Regions from separate parts of the Homo sapiens genome. Here region 1 is linked to region 2. Evidence: promoter capture Hi-C in 16 types of primary human blood cells and fetal thymus (Javierre and others, 2016). All regions are on one chromosome and are shown on one strand. The core of a region is centred on a gene start or on the middle of the fragment in contact, and the rest is flanking DNA. Distances in the headings are between cores, read along the strand shown. Region 1 overlaps PDP1 (pyruvate dehydrogenase phosphatase catalytic subunit 1). Region 2 holds the start of OTUD6B (OTU deubiquitinase 6B).

Region 1 (4,670 bases), core at 489-2,988, 2.9 Mb before region 2:
AAGAGATCAGTCTCTTCTTTTTATTCTGGATCTCCTTATTTTAAACTAAAGCTTTTCATTAATACAAATAAAAAAATCTTTTTTTCTTTCTTTAACTTCAATAGAAGAGTAGATAAAACTAAAAACCCTTATTGTCTCCAAGTGTGTGGCAAAATAGAAAATCTTTCAATTACATTAGGAAATCGGGTGGATAACGGAGTATAGTTATTCCACTTAAGAAGCATTCCAGTCAAATAATCACAAAAACAAATTCAGATTGCTTGGATCTTGGTCATTTATGGCTTGAAGAACTGGATTTGAAAACCACTTTAGGCTAAAATAAATGTATATGAATAATGCATAGACTGTGTATCTAGAAAATCATGCAATAAATATATGTTCTCATGTACACTGGAATCTCAGTGAAGAAAGGTGTGAACAGTACTGTTTCTTCACTTTAACCAAGAGACTACACACAGCAAGATACTTGCTTTTGGCCTATTCAAGATCTTATTTGCCAGGTCATCCTAATTTTCTCAGGTTGGTAAAAGAAGCTAATGTTTCAAGACACCTGTGATAAAGAAGTGACTTGCTTCAAGTGCAGGTGCCATGAAATCTGAGCTAGGCAGGACCAGACTCTCCTGACCCTGCCACCCTGCTGCAAAGTCAATTTGGAGTACCTGACTAGCTAGAGTATCAAAAGGGTAAATGCTTAGAATGACCAACTGGAAATGTTTATTATAGTAGTATCTTTTTAAAAAATCTGCCCTTTAAATGTATATCATTTGAGAATTGCCAGTGAAAGAGCCACTCACTATTCTTGGTTTTGATACGCCCCTACAACATGAGAATTGAACTGAACTACAATGATTGTAATGTCATCTCTGTACATTCGAGCAAGCTCTTCAGGAAGACTAAGCATTTTAGAGAGGCGCTCATGATCAACAGTCCCAAACTCGTTGTTGCCCACAGCGTGGCGAATGAGATGGGTTGCTGCGTTCTGATCCTCAAATACCGAGGACATTTTGGTTCTCCTTTCTGTTAAAAGGCCATGCATCTGTCCCAGAGTCACCTTGTAGCCACCAACAGCTATTGGCTGTTGGTGATGCATGCCAGTTAGGTACTCACCCACAATCCTAACCACATCCTGCCTATGCATAGTCTCCCACAACCCATCAGTAGCCAACACCAGAAACTTATCCTGTGGCCTTAATCGGTGGTAAGTTACCTCTGGCTCAGCAGTGAGATAAGGAGGTGTGTGATAATTAGGAGGAATAAACTTGGTATATTCATTGTCATTCAACTGGTCTGGGCCAGATTCTATCACTCTCTTTTGAAGGTCAATGCTCCATTTGAACTTTACATCTCCAAATGCCCTAAATGGCATCAGCAAGCCAAGCAGCCGATCCTGTTTCACGACACTCTTGGCCTCACTCTTTGGATGTTCCAATTTCAGCCGTTCTAGTTCTCTTTCATTTTGAGCATTGTGGTCATTAGACAGCGTGACTGCTGACCATGAGCCGTCCTCTTCCTGCACACCCAGCATGGCTCTGCTATCGCCAGTATTGGCCACATGAAGGTCAACACCATCCACATGGGCCACACAAGCAGTGGCTCCAGAAAATGCCACTCGAAGCACCAGGTAGTTGAGAAAAGAATTAGGATCACCAACTTGCGCCTCCAAGGAGATGTCATTATCAAGCCTCTTGAAGGCATTAATTAGAGCCTCCTTAACATCAATATCAGTCGACTCACCAGTGTTGAGGTCTATAAGCTCTTGCCAGTAAGTCCTCAAGCTGTTAAAGTACAATTTGGATGCCTCCTTACTAAAGTAATCATTGGGGTGCTTGTGCCACTGGAGAATGGGTAGCAGTGCCCGGCCGCTCTCCACTGCATTTTCAATCTCTAGCAAAGTCTCATGGGGTAACAAAGAGACAGCAATATAATAAAAGAGTCTTTCACTGACTGCCTGGGAACAAGCACAACCTGCATGGCCATCAAAAACCCCCAAAAGCATCCCTCTGGTCTGCAAGCAGGTTGCTGCACTTCTCCGGTCCTCAATGGGTGCATTTGCAGGCAGCTGATTGCTGTCAAATCCAAGGATAGAACTGACATTTTTGCCGTCAAATTCTGGCACTTTGAAACTGTATTCATTAGCTTTAAGGATGCTATTGACTTGTGGAGGTGTGAGGTAAAATTTCTGTGGTGTGGAAGCATATCTCCTTCCTTGGGTGTACTGCCACCAGTTCTCCTTTGGCCTGCAAAAGGTAGCATATGCTGGATGAGGTGTGTATCTCAGTCGACTCTGAGGAATGTACGATGAGGAACAACAGAGATGTTTGTGGTGGCAGTAACATGCAGTGCCATAGATCCTGCTCAGTTCACAGTTACGGATGAGAGGAAAAAACAGTTGAGTTGGTGCTGGCATGGCATCAGAGAACAGTGGCAGGCTGGAACTTCTGACTGGGATTCCTAGACAGCAAATTAGACAGATGTACACAAAGGAAAGAGTTACATTTCAGGATACTTAATCTAGCTTTGCCTTTATAACAAATATTAAGCAAGTCAATCTACATGTTAAGCCTTTGCTAGAAGGTACTACATTTTATACACACATCATGTACTATTTCTACAGGGTATATTCTGGCAGGCACAACTCCCAATCATTCGTGGAACCACGACTGAACTCCTGGCTCCTATACTCAAACTTCAATTTTCTCTTTTCTTTGTCGTCCTTTGTGCAGTACAAACTGTGCAGAATGTACAACAGATTTGGCTGGGGAAAGCTGAGGAGATGAAGGTTATATAACATTATGCAGTAGCCGTCTACCTGACCAATCATCCTTCTCCCTCCCTATTCTTAAAAAATGCCTTGAAATCTCCCATTTTACACAGGGACTTCTTCCATTTATGAAGACCCTTTACATAGACCTGTGGTCAATTTTTGGCATGATTACACATGGCTATGACCAAAAATGTTAAGAGGCAGCCAAACATATGTGTATTTATGAATTACGTGTACATCATATACATATATGACTACAGTAATATGCATTGTAACATATATAGAAAAATTTCTACATAATTAAATAAAAAAAGAAATTCCAGTATTTCTCTCCTGTACCCCAGTAGATGGTCTTGCAAAACTTGCTTCTCTAGTCCACTGTGGCAATTTGCCAGGCTAACGGGCATAGGTCTGCCACCAACTCCCAAATAATCTTGGAAAAGTCAGCTCACATCTTTGAGTCTCACTCTTCTAACCTGTAAAGGAACATCAACAGAGCAGATGCTATCTAAGGCTCTTCTAGGATTCATGCCTTTATGCTTATGGAAGTGAGGTTTTTAAATAAAATTCAGGTTTCATTTATTCACTGTTGAATTCTACCGTGCCCTTCATGATTAAAAAAAAAAAAAAAGTTTAAGTATTGCAGTAGCTCTAAAGCTTTGTTAGTAACATAAATGGTTTCAGTCCTAGAACTTAATTTACCTACTAACAATGTTCCCTGCTTAGCAGCTATAAGGAAAACCCATAGAAGTATTTTCATCTACTATGGATCCAAAGTAGAATTAACCCCTAGAAAAATGTTTTCTTGGATATGGTAATCACTCTGATTTGATCATTACACAATGTCTACCAATATATACATGCACTGAAACATCACATTGTACCCCATAAATATATAATATTATGTGTCAATTGTAAATTAAAAATAAATTTTAAAAGACCAAAAATGTTTTCTCTCACATTAAAAAAAAAAAAAAAAGGTATTTACTTGCTCCAGGGAAGCAGTATAGTCAAATAATAGTCTAAGGTTTGGATTGAAAAGGTACAGCAATATAATTACAAACTTAAAAAAAATCCTATCACTCACTATGTGCGCTGAAAATAATTTCTGGGCATTTATTTGGGAAATTTAATGAATATATCATTAATCTAGATAATTTGGGCAAGAAAAAAAATCCCTCTTCTTCCTCAATAACATATATTTTCCCTGAATTCTTGAGATACTGCTTCAAAATAGTCATTTGTACTATAAAGAAACACTTTGGAAATACTTTAAATAAACAAATGCAATAAACAAAAAGGAACACAGAAAATAAAACCATCTGAGTTAATAGCAACTATTCCTTCCCACGGCTAAACAAATATCATAGCATGTGTCAGCCATATATTATTTTCATGTACCTTTTTTGAAGAATAATTTGAGAAAAAGTAATAAATTGGGGTAGAGGGAAGCAAAGAAAACTAAACACTGAATAATCACTGATTCTTGTTTGTTTCTGTAATAAGCACTGCATAAGCCAGCCACACAGATTCTCTTCTGCAAGTAGTAGAAAGTACCATCATTTTAACTGCACTATCTAAGAAGGGATTTGTTTACGAAAATGAAGACAAGATCAGGCAATAGAAAGTAATGGCTAAAATTTTGGAAATAAGAATCCGTAACTAAAAAAGCATTCTGAAATGCACTAATGAAAAACAGAAATTCCAGAAAAACGGGAATCCATCAGGAGTAACCATTTAAATAAAAGAAATTCAAACTGAATACCTGAAAGTCATCCAGAGGTTAAGTGTACATGACTGAGCCAGAAGATGTGCTCAAATGTTGGGCCACATGACAGTGGCTTCCATACTTAAACCATATCTCTTTTTAGGTTTGCGTGCAGAAAGCATATCAACTCATTTTGTG
Region 2 (4,890 bases), core at 414-2,913:
CTTTCTTGATTCTTACAAAAACCTGTGCTTAGAGTGTAGAAATATTTGTATCGTATTATATATGTGGGAAAATTTGAGCTCAGAAAGATTAAGTAACCTTGCTCAGGTTACAATCCCATTCAGTCGCAATTCTGGGATCAGATGCCTGGTCTTCCAACTTTGATTTGGTGAAGCTTCATCTTTTGGGCAAGTAAATAGGTAAAGAAGTATAGCACTTTCTTTGCCGATCTCCCTTATAGAAACACACTGCCCTGTAAACTTGGTCACAAAAACATTAATGAGAAGTGATGCATGAGCATAACTAAGTGATTTCATTTCCCTACCAATTTTATGATTTTAGATAATAAACAGTTTAACAGGGCCGGGCACGGTGGCTCACGCCTGTAATCCCAGCACTTTGGGAGGCCGAGGCGGGTGGATCACAAGGTCAGGAGATCGACACCGTCTTGGCTAACATGGTGAAACCCTGTCTCTACTAAAAATACAAAAAATTAGCCGGGCGTAGTGGCGGGCGCCCGTAGTACCAGCTACTCGGGAGGCTGAGGCAGGAGAATGGCCTGAACCCGGGAGGCGGAGCTTGCAGTGAGCCAAGATTGAGCGTGTTTTGCAAAGCGAGACACCGTCTCAAAAAAAAAAAAAAAAGCAGTTTAACATTTAACAGAAGTGGACAGCTGTTTTCAAATGGTGTAGGCAACGACAAACATTTATTTCACATACCTTATTCTCCTTAGTAGTCAGCTTCAATTGCTCCAGTTCCTCTCTATGTTTCTGTTCCATTTCTTTTTCCAACTTGGCCACATCTTCGGTGAGTTGCTTCCTCCTCTTCTTGTCATTCTTGGGAACAGCATTCTTCATGCCCTGAATTTTGGCTGAAAAGCCATTAAAATCATTAAGTCAGACACGCAGGAGTAAAAGGAGATGAGAAACAGGAACCAATAAGGGGATGGTAACGGGCGAAGGGTACAGAAAAAGTAATTATGGAAGAAAGAGTCATCACGTAACAGGCAGCTACAGAGAGAGAAGATCCCAGATAAAGCTGAGACCAAAAAAAAAAAAAACTTCATTAACAAAATCTTGAATATGTTTCGGTTGTTTGGCGAGATAAGAGAAGGAAAAAAACCTGACTGTAGCCAGTTTTAAATCTTTCCGGTATCCTTTCTGAACCTCCTAAACTGAGGCGGGTCCATTCAAAATACACCCATTAGGGACAAGTATCGGTAACTGGGGCAGGTATAGAAAAGGGAGGCATCGTGGGTTTGGGAGCGGACCAAGACGGCGGCTTCTAGGTATTTTCAGACACCTGCACCCCGGCGGCGGCGCGGGGTAGGGGGCACGCCGCAGGCCTCAGAAGGGGAAGCCTCTGAAGGTTGGGGAATTAAAGGGCCGCCGGGGTAGGTGAAGAGAGAAGAGGCCACTTGCTACTAGGGGAAGTCTAGGGTGATCCAGATAAGTCACGCCTTGAGATTCCCCAGAATCGACCCGCCACGCGCCCTTCCCCCAGTCGCGGCGGCTTCCAGATTCCCACTTCCTTCCGCCTCACCTTGCAACTCCTTCTTCTCTTTGCGATGCCTTCTCAGCAGCTGCTCTTCCTCATCAAGCTCTTCGGTCAATACCGCCTCCATGACGACCAGGTACCCCAGCACACGCGCTAGAAGAAACCTGCACCGGCTAGTAGGCACCTTCCACCCCTCAACCCTCACCCGGGGCTCCATTGGCTACGGCTGGGACCCAGCCCCGCCTTCAAGGCGGCACCGGATCTAAGCAAAGCCACTGCAAAGACGAGAAACTTAAATGGGGTGCTGCGCGTGCGCGCTACCGTGACCCTGCCGTGATGGGCGGGGCGGCAGGGGAGGAACCAGACTGCGAGCGGAGAAGCGGAGTTTGCAGCCTCGGAATTGGCTAGAGCGCCAGAGCCGAGTCAGCCATAAAGCTACGCGCTAGGCTCTTGGCCCTGACGTGAGGCGCGCAGAGATGGCGTAACGGGAATAGTTTTCAACGTCTATTTCATTCCCTGCTTCAGAGGACCTCTTTAATCTTTGATTTTGGTCCCTGTTTCTAAGAAAAGCAACTGAAAAGGTAAGAAAGAAAAATAACGCATTTTAATAAAGCCGTCGATAATTATCAATGGGAATCTTTGGGCTGTTTGGGGCTGTGTGGAATTAAATTATGTTTATTGTCTCCAAGGTCGTAATACCGCCCCTGAGAAAAAAGGAGCAGCGCTAAATAATCGAGAAAATGCCTCCTCTTGAAACGGATATAGAGATGGAAACAAGATATAAGAAGGATTGAGAATCATATAATACAGGAGCTTAAACACCTATGCGCGATGATAAAGAGGGTACTATTAGAGCGCTTGGAAAATACCAGGAAGTTGAGAGAGTTAACAGAAGGGCGCACGCTGGATTGGCCACAAAATCGAATTACTGAAGTAAGTGCAAAACGACAAATTGTCACAGAATACAGAGAAAAGGGGAAAAGAAATTAAGAGGAGAAAAAGAGAGATCTAGAGGGCCGGTCCAGGAGATACAATCTATGCATAATAGGAATACCTGAAACTGAGGACAGAGCAAGTGGAGCTGAAACAATAAAGGATCTACTTGAAAAAATTTTCCAGAATTGAAGAACGAACTAGATCTACAAATGGAAAAGGCTCATAGGATACCTTTAAAGTTTAATGAAAAGAAAGCAGCATCTAGACATATCCGGGTGACGTTTTTGAATTTCAAAGACGAAACATTTTACAAGCATCCAGTCAGAGAAAGCAGGTTACTTACAAAGGGGCAAAAGTCAGGCTGACCTCAGATTTTTCTCCTGCAATTCTAAATGCCAGAAGACAGTGGAACAATATCTAGAGTGTTAAGGGAAAATAATTTTGAGCCAAGAATTATATACTCTGCCAAGTTATCATTTCTTTACAAAGGAAACTGGAAGACATTCTTAGATATACAGGGGTTAGGAAAGTATATCAACCAAGAACTTTCCCTGAAAATTTTGCTGAAGGATTTACTGCAGCTAACAGAGAACCTGAATTAAAATAAGAATAGGGAGGCAATTGTATGAAAGAACTGATGGTATGCATTAAAACTAGTTAAGGAGCATTAAGTTTAAATTGTTATGTATAGGGCATTAAAACTAAATACAAAAATAGAAACATAAGCTGGGTGTAAAATTTCAGTTTACGTTTAAACTGGAAGGGCATACCACATGTTCAATATATTGGACAAATACTGTTTTATTTTTAGCATGTAGTATTGTAGATACAAATACGCATGTTCTTAAGCTAAACCTAAGTAAAAGGGCTTTGTCACTGTAGATTTGACAAATAACATTCTAAATGTCAAATCTGACAATTGGAAAACAGTACAGTTTTATTTCCCTTATTTTTAAGTATAGCAGGAAAAAAATAACAAGTTTGTCCATGTTACTACTGATACTGTAAAGAAACTTCCAAATCACTGGTTTGGGAGGGGGTGGATACATCCTCATTTTCTGTACATGATGCATGGGGAAAAACAGTAGTTACTGCATCATATAGTTCCAAGTAAATCATATAGTTCCAAGTAAATTTGACATGGAAATAAGTGTTAACTACAAAAATAGAATATATACATTCCAATGTTTGGAAAAGAAGTGGTAAAAAGAAAAATAGCAAAAAGACACTAAAATTAGCAAAAAGTAGATTGACAGTACAGATGACCTATAAACTGGTTAAATAGCCCTATTACAATTGAAATTGGGTCAAAAATCAATCTCTAACCTGAGATACATTTGTATAAAACAAATGATCAAAGAGTTTAAAGATAATGGAAACTATAAATCATAGAAATGGCAACATTTTTCTTAAAATCTAAACATAAGACATTTTATGTAAAACATACAATATAGGATGTAACATTTAACAAACTATATGGTAAATAATATGACATTAATATATAAAATATATGTTCCAGATCTTGATGTGGGTGATAGTTTTACTTATGTACATCGATATACATCTATTTAAAAACATGTACATTTAAATTGTTGCATTTTATGTATTTAAAATTTATTGAGTAATCCTTCTGTATGTATTATTAAAGAGAATATAGCAAAAAAATATGTTGGACTATGACTTCAACATTTATGATTTCTTTTTTTAGAGACAAGAGGGTCTTGCTTTGTAGCCTAGGGTGGAATGCAGTGGCAACATCATAGCTCACTGCAGTCTCCCAACTCCTAGGCTCAAGTAATCCTCCTGCCTCGGCCTCCCAAAGCACTAAGATTACAAATGTGAGCCACCAACCCAGCGCAGTTACAGCTTTTGATAAATCAAGTAAATGGGAAGTTAAGAGATAAAAGGTAGTTAAATAGTTAAAATATGTGTGTAATATATATATTACTTTTCTACCTTATTTTTGCATTCTCTTCAAATTATCCTGAAGCATTTCTAAATGATTTTATACTCAAATGTAGAGAAAACTTTAACATATTTCTAGAAAGCACTCGTGACCACATTACAAAAAAAAAAAAACCCTAGAAAATAATAATTTTCAACCCTGAAAAATCACACACTTGGAATTTTTTTAATGTTCTTAAATAATCTTTCGGTCAAAGAGGAAATTATAACAAATACTGATGATTTAGGAAATACAACAATGAAGATAATTATACTTTACATGCTATGGGATGGATGTAGAAAAGGCAAGAAACAGGAATTAAAACACTAAGTGAAGAATGGAATATGCATGGGAAGGACTCAGTAACTAAAGTTCTTCAATTTTGCTACCTTTCAAATGAGGAAGTAGTCTGCCTTCATAGTGGATTTATCCCCAATATGTTATGAGACCACAATTTACTTATTTCTCCCAATTGAGCTTTAATGTAGCATAATGAATTCTGAGCATCTGACAA

Evidence for each region. Contacts are between HindIII fragments. The CHiCAGO score rates a contact against its expected background, and 5 or more counts as called.
Region 1: a fragment that was not itself captured here is called in contact with the fragment with the promoter of OTUD6B in region 2 in 1 of 17 cell types (total CD8 T cells); the score reaches 7.8 in total CD8 T cells.

Annotation. Positions count from the first base shown.
Region 1 is chr8:93,919,797-93,924,466 of GRCh38, reverse strand. PDP1 (pyruvate dehydrogenase phosphatase catalytic subunit 1) reads right to left here. Exons shown (of 2, transcript NM_018444.4): 2 at 1-2,451. The coding sequence starts at 2,407. The coding sequence ends at 794. Among named protein-coding and RNA genes, the nearest start is that of PDP1, 5.2 kb to the right of the region's middle. The HindIII fragment of the contact is 3,370 bases long and covers 54-3,423 here.
Region 2 is chr8:91,067,117-91,072,006 of GRCh38, reverse strand. OTUD6B (OTU deubiquitinase 6B) reads right to left here and starts at 1,663. Exons shown (of 7, transcript NM_016023.5): 1 at 1,541-1,663; 2 at 718-869. The coding sequence starts at 1,622. It overlaps OTUD6B-AS1 (OTUD6B antisense RNA 1), which reads left to right and starts at 1,818. Exons shown (of 3, transcript NR_110438.1): 1 at 1,818-2,076; 2 at 2,185-2,428. RefSeq lists an enhancer at 1,436-1,615. The HindIII fragment of the contact is 11,349 bases long and covers 176-4,890 here.